2 separate regions of the Homo sapiens genome follow, and region 2 is linked to region 1. Evidence: promoter capture Hi-C in human tissues and cell types (Jung and others, 2019). All regions are on one chromosome and are shown on one strand. The core of a region is centred on a gene start or on the middle of the fragment in contact, and the rest is flanking DNA. Distances in the headings are between cores, read along the strand shown.

Evidence for each region. Contacts are between HindIII fragments. The study calls those that stand out against the background at their distance.
Region 2: a fragment that was not itself captured here is called in contact with the fragment with the promoter of PDILT in region 1 in 3 of the 25 tissues and cell types used here (aorta, hippocampus and lymphoblastoid cells).

The regions. Positions count from the first base shown.
Region 1 is chr16:20,403,103-20,408,058 of GRCh38, reverse strand. PDILT (protein disulfide isomerase like, testis expressed) reads left to right here and starts at 3,322. Exons shown (of 12, transcript NM_174924.2): 1 at 3,322-3,563. The HindIII fragment of the contact is 3,912 bases long and covers 1,000-4,911 here.
Region 2 is chr16:19,590,337-19,595,088 of GRCh38, reverse strand. It overlaps VPS35L (VPS35 endosomal protein sorting factor like), which reads right to left. Exons shown (of 31, transcript NM_020314.7): 8 at 3,215-3,299. Among named protein-coding and RNA genes, the nearest start is that of VPS35L, 37 kb to the right of the region's middle. The HindIII fragment of the contact is 7,605 bases long and covers 1-4,752 here.

The sequences.
Region 1 (4,956 bases), core at 2,073-4,572:
CAGGGCCCCACAGGAATTCCTGTGAGCCTTTCGCCTCAAACCTCCTGTCTCAGTCTGCTCCAGCCATACCGGTCTTTTTGTTGTTTGTTCTCTGAAGTTCTTTTTAAATTATTTTTAATTTTTGTGGGTACATAGTAGGTATATACATTTATGGGTTACATGAGATATTTTGATACAGGCATGCAATGCGTTAGAATCACATCAGGGTAAATGGGGTGTCCATCACCTCAAACATTTATCCTTTGTGTTACAAACAATCCATTTATACTATTGTAGTTATTTTAGGTGTATGGTTACATTATTTTTGAAGATAGTCATCCTATTGTGCTAGGAAATACTAGGCCTTATTCATTCACTCTTACTACTTTTTTGTACCCATTAACCATCCCCACTTCTCCTCCAACTCCCTGCAACACTTTCCAGCCTCTGGTAACCGTCCTTCTACTGTCTCCATGAGTTCATTTGTTTTCCTGTTTAGCTCCCACAGGTAAGCGAGAATGTGCAATGTTTGCTTTCTATGCCTGGCTTACTTCCCTTAATGTAATGACTTCCAGTTCCATCCATGTTGTTGCAAATGACAGGGTTATGGGTGTCCTATAGAGAGGATGCTGAGCCATTAACTGCCTATCTTTGCAGTGATTCAAACTTCACCCTGGATTTTTATCCATCACTGTATGTTGTTCCCCTGTGACTCTGTCTCATTTCCTGGCCTGGCCAGTTTGGCCCATTTCCACGCAGGCAGCTCCTCTCCCTTGCCGCCAAGCTTGGCCACAGGGAACCATCTTATGAGCCCTCAATGTCCATTTGCTCAGCATTCAGTCCTCTACTGCGACCCAGGATACAACCTCATCTCTGAATCTGCAGCCAGATGTAAAGATACAATCTCTACCCTCAGAGGGGTGGACGGACTGTTGAACATTATTTCTCCAGCAGTCTAATCTCAATATCGTTACTCTCAATCAGTACTTTTTAGAAGAATATATAATCATAAGTCATGACAAATGTTTCATAAATGTTCAATGAAAGAACTGGATACACTTTATAGACAATATAATCACAATTTTATTTTTAAAAAGTATATATTAATCCCATACGTAACAAAATATGAATGTTTCTCTAAGTAAGATGATGTATGATTTCAATTAACTCATTTTTTCTGTATGTTCTATGTTTTAGAAATTAAATCCTGTTCTTTTCTAATCAGAAAGAAATTAATGTTATTTTATAAAAAGAAGCTTTAAGCCGGGCACAGTGGCTCACGCCTGTAATCCCAGCACTTTGGGAGGCCGAGGTAGGTGGATCACCTGAGGTCAGGCGTTTGAGACCAGTTTGGCCAAAATGGTGAAACCTCGTCTCTACTAAAAATACAAAAATTAGCCGGCCGTGGTGGTGCATGCCTGTAATCCCAGTTACTCAGGAGGCTGAGGCAGGAGAATTACTTGAACTCAGGAGGCGGAGGTTGCAGTGAGCCAAGATTGCACCACTGCACCCCAGCCTGGGCAAGAGAGCAAGACTCTGTCAAAAAAAAAAAAAGCAGCAGCAGCTTTATCAGTAAATGAGTATCATCATAAAAGTGCCTATGTTATGTCAAGAAACAACTGTGTGCAAGAGTGAAGGAAAATGAATGAAGGACATTTGGGATAATAACCCAAGTGTTTTAGTTTGTGACTAACAGTTGACAAGTGTGAAAGATGTCAAAATAATATATGCCAGACTAGATTGTTGATTTAGGCCTGGGAGAAAAAAGAGTCAAACACATCCCAGGAATTATTTGCAAACACAACATCCAGAAAAGGAATAATTGCCAAGAAAAGTTGAAAGGGACATGATGAGTTCAAATTAAGACATTCAGATATTCAGTGAGTGTGGTTCAACCAAAAAGAGCTTTTCTAATAGGCAGATGGAAAACGGTCTTAATAGTAAATGTAATCAATTGATCAAATCCTGGAGAGTAAATGAGAGAGTAACTTATAAAGGGGTGTATTTGAAGTCATGCATTTAAACAAGCCAACAAAAGTATGGAAGTTAAGTATGGAAAGAGAAGAGTGGGGCCGCATGCCGTGGCTCACGCCTGTAATCCCAGCACTTTGGGAGGCCGAGGCAGGCAGATCATTTGAGGTCAGGAGTTTGAGACCGACCTGGCCAATGTGGTGAAACCCCGTCTCTACTAAAAATACAAAAATTAGCCAGACGTGGTGGTGCATGCCTGTAGTCCCAGCTACTCAGGAGGCTGAGGCAGGAGAACCGCTTGAACCCTGGAGGTGAAGGCTACAGTGAGTGGAGATCGCGCCACTACACTGTCTCAAAGAAAAAGAAAAGAAAGAGAAGAGCAAAGCGCTAGGACTAAAACCCACAGATGTTAAAATTTAGTGAAATGAATGTTAGTCATCTCCATCAGTATTTAATAACAGTTGGGCAGCAGATAGCCAAAGGCTGCAAACTCTGACAGTAATAACGATGCTAATAATATCAACAGCCTTTTCTTTATTCATTCAACAAATATTTACTGAGCACCTATCACCAGGTAAGCAAAGTAAATTATGTGGAGTTTAGAAGAAAATTAATGCTATGAAGGAAAATAAAGCCTGGAAGGAGGATGAGGAACGCCTGAGAGGGGGATGGGGCACTTACAAATTTAAACAAAGTGGCCAGGAAAGGCCCAACTGTGGAAGTGACATTTGGGCAAAGACTGGAACGAGCTAAGGGGTGAACCCTGAGTCCACCTGGGTGAAGAGCCTCCCTAACAGGGGAAACCACAAGTGTAGAGGCCCAGACATTGTATTGGAGGACTGGCAGGGACACCAGTGTGGCTGGAGCAGGGTGAGTGGAGATCTTTCTCCCCTAGGAGATGAGGCCAGGGTGGTGATGCGTGAGGGGCTCCTGCCTTCTAGGTACTGAGCTGCTCGTTTTGCATAAATCCTCTTATTTTATCCCATCCCCCTCTCAGGCGTTCCTCATCATCCTTCCAGGTTTTATTTTTCTTCATATCATTAATTATCTTCTAAATTCCACATAATTTACTTTGCTTACAACACCCCCATGAGTTAGATGCCATGTAACAGGCATGGAAACTGAACCTCAGAAAGAGTAAGTGACATTCTCAAGGCCATACAGCTGTTCAAGACAGAGCTGGGATTCAAATTCCAATCTATAGGCACTGAGTTCAGAGCCCTCCTGGGCCATACCCAGCACCCCACACTGAGTTTTGTTTCTAGCCCCTCAAGCAAACTCAGCAAGGGCTGCCAGGCAGGGCCCCCTCTTACTCAACAATGGCCCATTCTTCTACAGGGTCACCCCTGGTCCTCTAGAACCCCAGAACTCAGAACTTTGCTGCTGAGGCTGCTGTGGCCTCTGTGTGCCCAGGAAGGGACTTCATTTCTGCCTGTGGATTCTTTAGAATGCCCAGTCGTCTGCGGGTCCTGCCCTGATCACAAGGAGAAGCCAGGAGCCTCCTCTTCAGGCTACAACCTTCCTTCTTAAGGGCCACAGAGTTTGTGGCCCCACCCCCAGCACAGCCCCACCTTGGCCCCAGGAACCCTGGGAGTGGCCTTGGCTTCCTGCAGGTATGAGCTTCAGTGAAAATGGGAAATCTGACTGATGGGCCCTGCCTTGGGAGGCTTTTCTCTACCAGGAGTCACCAGTTTAAGTTTTAAGTGTCAGTTTTGGTGTATAGATGGCTACACATTAGGATCAACTTGAGGATTTTAAAAAATAATAATAATGCCCAGACTCACCCAACCCCAGATCAATTAAATTAGAACCTACTGGGTTTGGGTTTGAACATCAGTATTTTTTATTAAACTCTCCAAGAGATTCTCAGCATAGTCATGGTTGAGAACCACTGAAATGAACCAATGGGGTTTGCTGTAAGAGTTAAATTAGGCCATTCATTCATTCATTCAACAAACATTCATTGAGTTCCAAATCTGGTACAGGCACTGTTCTGAAGGGGAGAAAACAGCTGTGAACAATGGTATTTACATTAAAAAGTTCAAAATGACAACAACAACAAAGTACACTCATAAATAATAATACAAAATATGATGCAAACAATGGTGATATGGCAGAGAGTGCTGAAAGCTGAGATGGGGTGAGACAGAGTGGCCCGGGAAGACCCTTCTGATGAGCGTGGATTCGAGCTAGGACCCAGAGAACCAGAAAAGGCTGACGATGTGAGGGAAGGGTGCCCCAGACAGAGGCAAAGGCCCCGGGTAGGGTGTGCTTGGGAAAGGGAAGAGGCCAGTGTGGCTCCCCAGAGTGCGGGAGGAGAGAGAGAGAGGAGGGCGATAAGGTCAGATGGGTCCAGAGCCAGTGGGGCCTGGTAGACCACAGAGAACAGTTTGGCTGGTGTGCGGTTTTGCGAATGGATTGTAAAAAAAAAAGAGGCAGAAGCTTTTTTTTGCACAAAAGTGAGCACCTTTTGATAGGCACAGTGGTGTGATGGAATTCCTGTGTCGAAAGGAAATCTCTGCTGGGCACGGTGGCTCACGCCTGCAATCTCAGCACTTTGGGAGGCCCAGGCAGGTGGATCACCTGAGGTCAGGAGTTTGAGACCAGCCTGGCCAACATGGTGAAATCCCGTTTCTACTAAAAATACAAAAATTAGCCGGGCATGGTGGCGGGTGCCTGTAGTCCCAGCTGCTAGGGAGGTTGAAGCAGGAGAATCGCTTAAACCCAGGAGGCGGAGGCTGCAGTGAGCCAAGATCATGTGATTGCACTCCAGCCTGGGCAACAAGAGCAAAACTCTGTCTCAAACAATAAAAATAAAAATAAAGGAAATGTCTGATTGTTGTGTGGGGAATGGGTTGAGGTGAAGCACAAAGAGTAGAAGCAGAGGCAGGATCAGTAAGGAGGTTACCACACCCTCTTGGCGGGAAACCACAGTGGCTGGGACATGGGGTCTCTCCACGGCATACAGGGAGAATGCACACAGGGAGAATGTGGAGGGAATGCACA
Region 2 (4,752 bases), core at 840-3,339, 810 kb after region 1:
TTCTGCCCCTCTCCCGGGCTCATCTCATCGCCTCTCTCTTGGCCTCCTTGGTTCTCAGGCCAGCCTGGCATGCTCCCAATGCTCCCACCCCAGGATCTCCGCACAAGCTGTTCCTTGGCCTCTTCTGCCCCTGGCCTCCACCCCACAGACCCAGAGGGCTCACCTCTCCCCTCTCACCGCCTTCAAGCACCTGCTCAGGTAACCTCTCAACGAGGCTTCCTCTGAGCACCTTACTTAAACTTGCACCCCTACCCCCTCACCTAATTCCCTCCATTCCTCTTCACCCCCTCACCCCACTCTGGTTTTCTCCATAGCATGGATCATTGTCTAACATACAATTGGGTTGACTTAATTGTTTTGTAAATTCTCTTTTTTGGAAACATAAGCACCACAAAGGCGAGGATTTTTTTTCTCTTCTTTTTTTTTTTTTTTTTTTTTTTTTTTGAGACGAAATCTCAGCTCTGTGGCACAGGCTGGAGTGCAGCAGCGCGATCTCAGCTCGCTGCAACTTCCACCTCCCGGGTTCAAGCGATTCTCCTGCTTCATCCTCCCAAGTAGCTGGAATTACAGGTGCCTGCCACCAAGCCTGGCTAATTTTTATATTTTTAGTAGAGATGGGGTTTCACCATGTTAGCCAGTCTGGTCTCGCACTCCTGACCTGAAGTGATCCAACCACCTCAGCCTCCAAAAGTGGTAGGATTATAGGCGTGAGCCACTGTGCCTAGCCAAGGCAAGGATTTTTATCCCTTCTGTTTGCTGACACCTCCCTAGTGGCCTGCAGAGAGCCTGATACCACCTCTCCGGGCCATCTGAACCCATCAGGGCTCATCTGTCAGCTGGGACATCTCTTCTTTTTGCCCAGGTAGCATCCACTCCCCTTTCTTCTGCTAACTGTATCACTCTTTTAGTTTTGGGGTGACCCAGGCCTGGATAATCAGTGCATTTCATCCCCCAGATAACACAACTGGCTCAGGGACTGACATGTGATCCAAGCCAGGCCAATAAGATGGGATTCTGAAACTTCTGTGGGAATGCTTGGAGAAAGTAGCTCTTTCCATGCCCTGGGACCACTAGCAATAAAGCTAGCAGAAGCTGAGGACAGCTTGTGAAGCTCGAGAATGCACCCAACCAAGGGCAAGGTCTTTTTTTTTCTCTTTTCTTTTTTTTTTTTGGAGACGGAGTCTCGCCCTGTCGCCCAGGCTGGAGTGCAGTGGCGTGATCTTGGCCCACTGCAATCTCCACCTCCTGGGTTCAAACAATTCTCCTGCCTCAGCCTCCCAAGTAGCTGGGACTACAGGTGTGCACCACAACACCCAGCTAATTTTTGTATTTTTAGTAGAGACGGGGTTTCACCATGTTGGCCAGGCTGGTCTTGAACTCCTGACTGCAGATGATCCACCCACCTCGGCCTCCCAAAGTGTTGGGATTACAAGTGTGATGAGCCACCATGCCCGGCCCAAGGGCAAGGTCTTAATGACACTGTTTGGGTTCCTGGATCCAGCTGCACCTGAAGCCAAACTACCCCTGGACTTTTCAGCATAAGCCAATAAAGACCCACTTTTTCAAGGTTAGTTAGCTTTCTTGTCACTTGTTTTAGCTAGCGCACTCAGGCCTCCGGTCTCTTGGACAGGACTGGGATGCACAGAAATGAATGAGTCTCTCAGATTGATAGTCTGCTTTCTGACACATTGTATCTTTCGATGGGTTTACAGATAAGATTTGCTGGGTTGGGAGCCCATTAGTCCCTGTAAGACAGTGAATGTCTCTGTTCTGATCTTCCACGTGTTCAGCTCTCAGAAGGCGCCCCTATTTCCTGGTTCTGGTGGGGTGCCTTGCTGTGGGGCACATCATATACAGCTTAGAGGGCTGCATGGTTTGAGCAAACTGCTAATGGCACGATGTTCTGGCCTAACCAACCACTGCCAAGCAGCACAGGGGCCTCCTGCTCCTCCAGGTTATTCTCTTCAGTCTAAACCTTTCTACCTGGCTCCAAAAGGTCTCTCTACCTGTGAGGTGGTGTGTGGGACTAGGGGCAGCCACAGTGATGCAGGAAGCTATCCAGGTGGGAGAGGACTGTGGCTAGGATTAAAATTTTAACAGTGAGGCTGGGCACAGTGGCTCATGCCTGTCATCCTAGCACTTAGGGAGGCCGAGGAGGGCAGATCACTTGAGGTCAGGAGTTTGAGACCAGCCTAGCCAACATGGTGAAATCCCATCTCTACTAAAAATACAAAAACTAGCTAGGCGTGGTGGTGCGTGCCTGTAATCCCAGCTACTGGTGAGGCTGAGGGAGGAGAATCACTTGAACCCCGGAGGCAGAGGTTGCAGTGAGCCAACATCACGCCACTGTACTCTAGCCTGAGTGACAGAGACTTTATCTCCAAAAAAAAAAAAAAAAATTTTAACAGTGAAGAAAGAAAAAAATAGACATGCTGGGGAGAGCTTTAGGAGGCTGAACCGAAGAATCTGGTGACTGGACATGGGCATGTGGGGGAAGATGCTCAGATTCCCAGCTCAGGCAACTGGGTACATGGTGGTGCCATTCCTGGAGACAGAAACTCAGTGGGAAAAGAGAAAGGGCTGGGAACAGATGCCAAGTTCAGTTTCAGGTGCCTGTGAGACGGCAAGGGACCCATGCTGCTTAGTGCCCCCAGCCTGCCCTGCTTCACTCATTCACTTTACTAGTCTATCACAAGATTAGGAAAAACAGGCCAGGCATGGTGGCTCATGCCTGTAATTCCAGCACTTTGGGAGGCTAAGGCAGGAGGATCACTTGAGGCTAGGAGTTTGAGAGCAGCCTGGGCAACACTGCGAGACTCTGTCTCTACCAAAAAAAAAAAAAAAAACTTAGCTGGGCACGGTGGCATGAGCCTGTAGCCCCAGCTACTCAGGAGGCTGAGGCAGGAAGACGGCTTGAGCCCAGGGGTTTGAGGCTGCAGTGAGCCATGACTGCGCCACTGCCCTCCAGTCTGGATAACAGAGCAAGACCCTGACTCAAAAAAAAAAAGAAGAAAAAATAAAATTTTAGAAATTTTAGAATGTTTCAAAAATAGCGCCCTTATTAATGGGCGTGGGGGGGAACGGTTTGATCTCTCCCATGACTTACTTAATAACTTAAACCACAGCAGAACCTAATTTACAGTAACTCTACCACCCAATTCTTGACAAAACGAACACATTTCCTAGATCTAAGATGCATATGACAGGTACTTACCAAATGTATCAAGTATGTCGGTGATAAGGACAAATTTGCTTGGGTAGAACTGAATAACACTGGTGTCTGAAAGAAGCTTTGAACACTAAAAAAAGAGAAAAAAAGAGAAAATTCACTCTGGCATGTCTGGTATGGGTAGGACACTCCAGATCTGAAAAATTAATGGTTTCTATATACAAGTTGAGATACTTACTATGTGCCAAGGCCTGTGCGAGGTGCTGAGCATACAATGACAAGCTAAACCACTGTGCTTTTCACAGAGAGAGCCGGACTCTGCTTACAACAGAACCTCTTCTTTGTTTTCCCTTCCTTTTTTTTTTTTGTAGAGATGGGGTCTCGCTATGTTGCCCAGGTTGGCCTTAAACTCCCAACCTCAAGTGATCCTCCCACCTCAGCCTCCCAAAGTGCTGGAATTACAGGCGTGAGCCACCGCACCCGGCCCATAACAGTCTCTTAAGAAAATACACTATCACCTTCTTCAGGAAAGCCTTATCCAAAAGGATCCTGCTTGTATACTGAACCAGGAAGCACTCAAAATCACTGAGAGAAGTGAATGACATCTCTCTCATCACAGTCCTCATCTGTGGCCCCATCTTTGTTCAATTGCTTTGCAGACTGGCTTCTTCTGTTGATTTCAGGGTGATCAGCATCCTTAAACATTCTTTTCTAAGAAATGACCCCATAAGTAAATCCCCAAGGCTTCATAAACTCACACTGATTATTTATACTCAGTCCCAAATTCCCCCCAAAAGGAACATAAGCTTCAGTGAATACATGTTACTCTGGAAATATGACCTTCAATGCTGAAAACATTTCAGCTTTGCGGGGAATTGCTGAATTCTACATTCTCATTCATGCCAAAGGGTCACAGCCATGTTCAGGACTATTTAATTTTTTTAAATTTTATTATTATTTTATTAGAGATAAGGTCTTGCTCTGTCGCTCGGGCTGGAGTGCATTGGTGCAATCATAGCTTACTGCAGCAATGAACTCCTGGGCTCAAGCAATCCTCCTGCCTCAGCCTCCCGAGTAGCTGGGACTACAGGTATGTACCACCATGGTTGGCTAATTTTTTTTCTTTAATTTTATGTAGAGGCAGGTTCTCACTATGTTGCTCAGGCTGGTCTTGAACTCCTGACCTCAAGCAATCCTCCCACCTCAGCCTCCCAAAGTGCTGGAAATACAGGTATGAGCCACTGCACCCGGCCAACATGTTCAGAACTCTTTTTTTGAGTACTCGTCTGCTATTTAGCGTTCAGGACTTTTAATGGAAGACCGCAGTCACACAATGTGGCCCCAAACACCTTTGATTATCTTTTATCATCAGAAACAGAAAAGCTCTTTCTACTTTGAAGAACTAAATTTAATGCCATGCCCTGAAGACTTTACAAATTCAAAAGTCAGCATAAGGAATTAAATAACTGCCACACTTCATCACCTCAATGGTTGACCCTCAGAAAGAAAAATGTCATTTAAAAATTAAAAAAAAGATGTTCAGACATTTAGAAAGGATTATTTAATATGCAATTCCAATATGC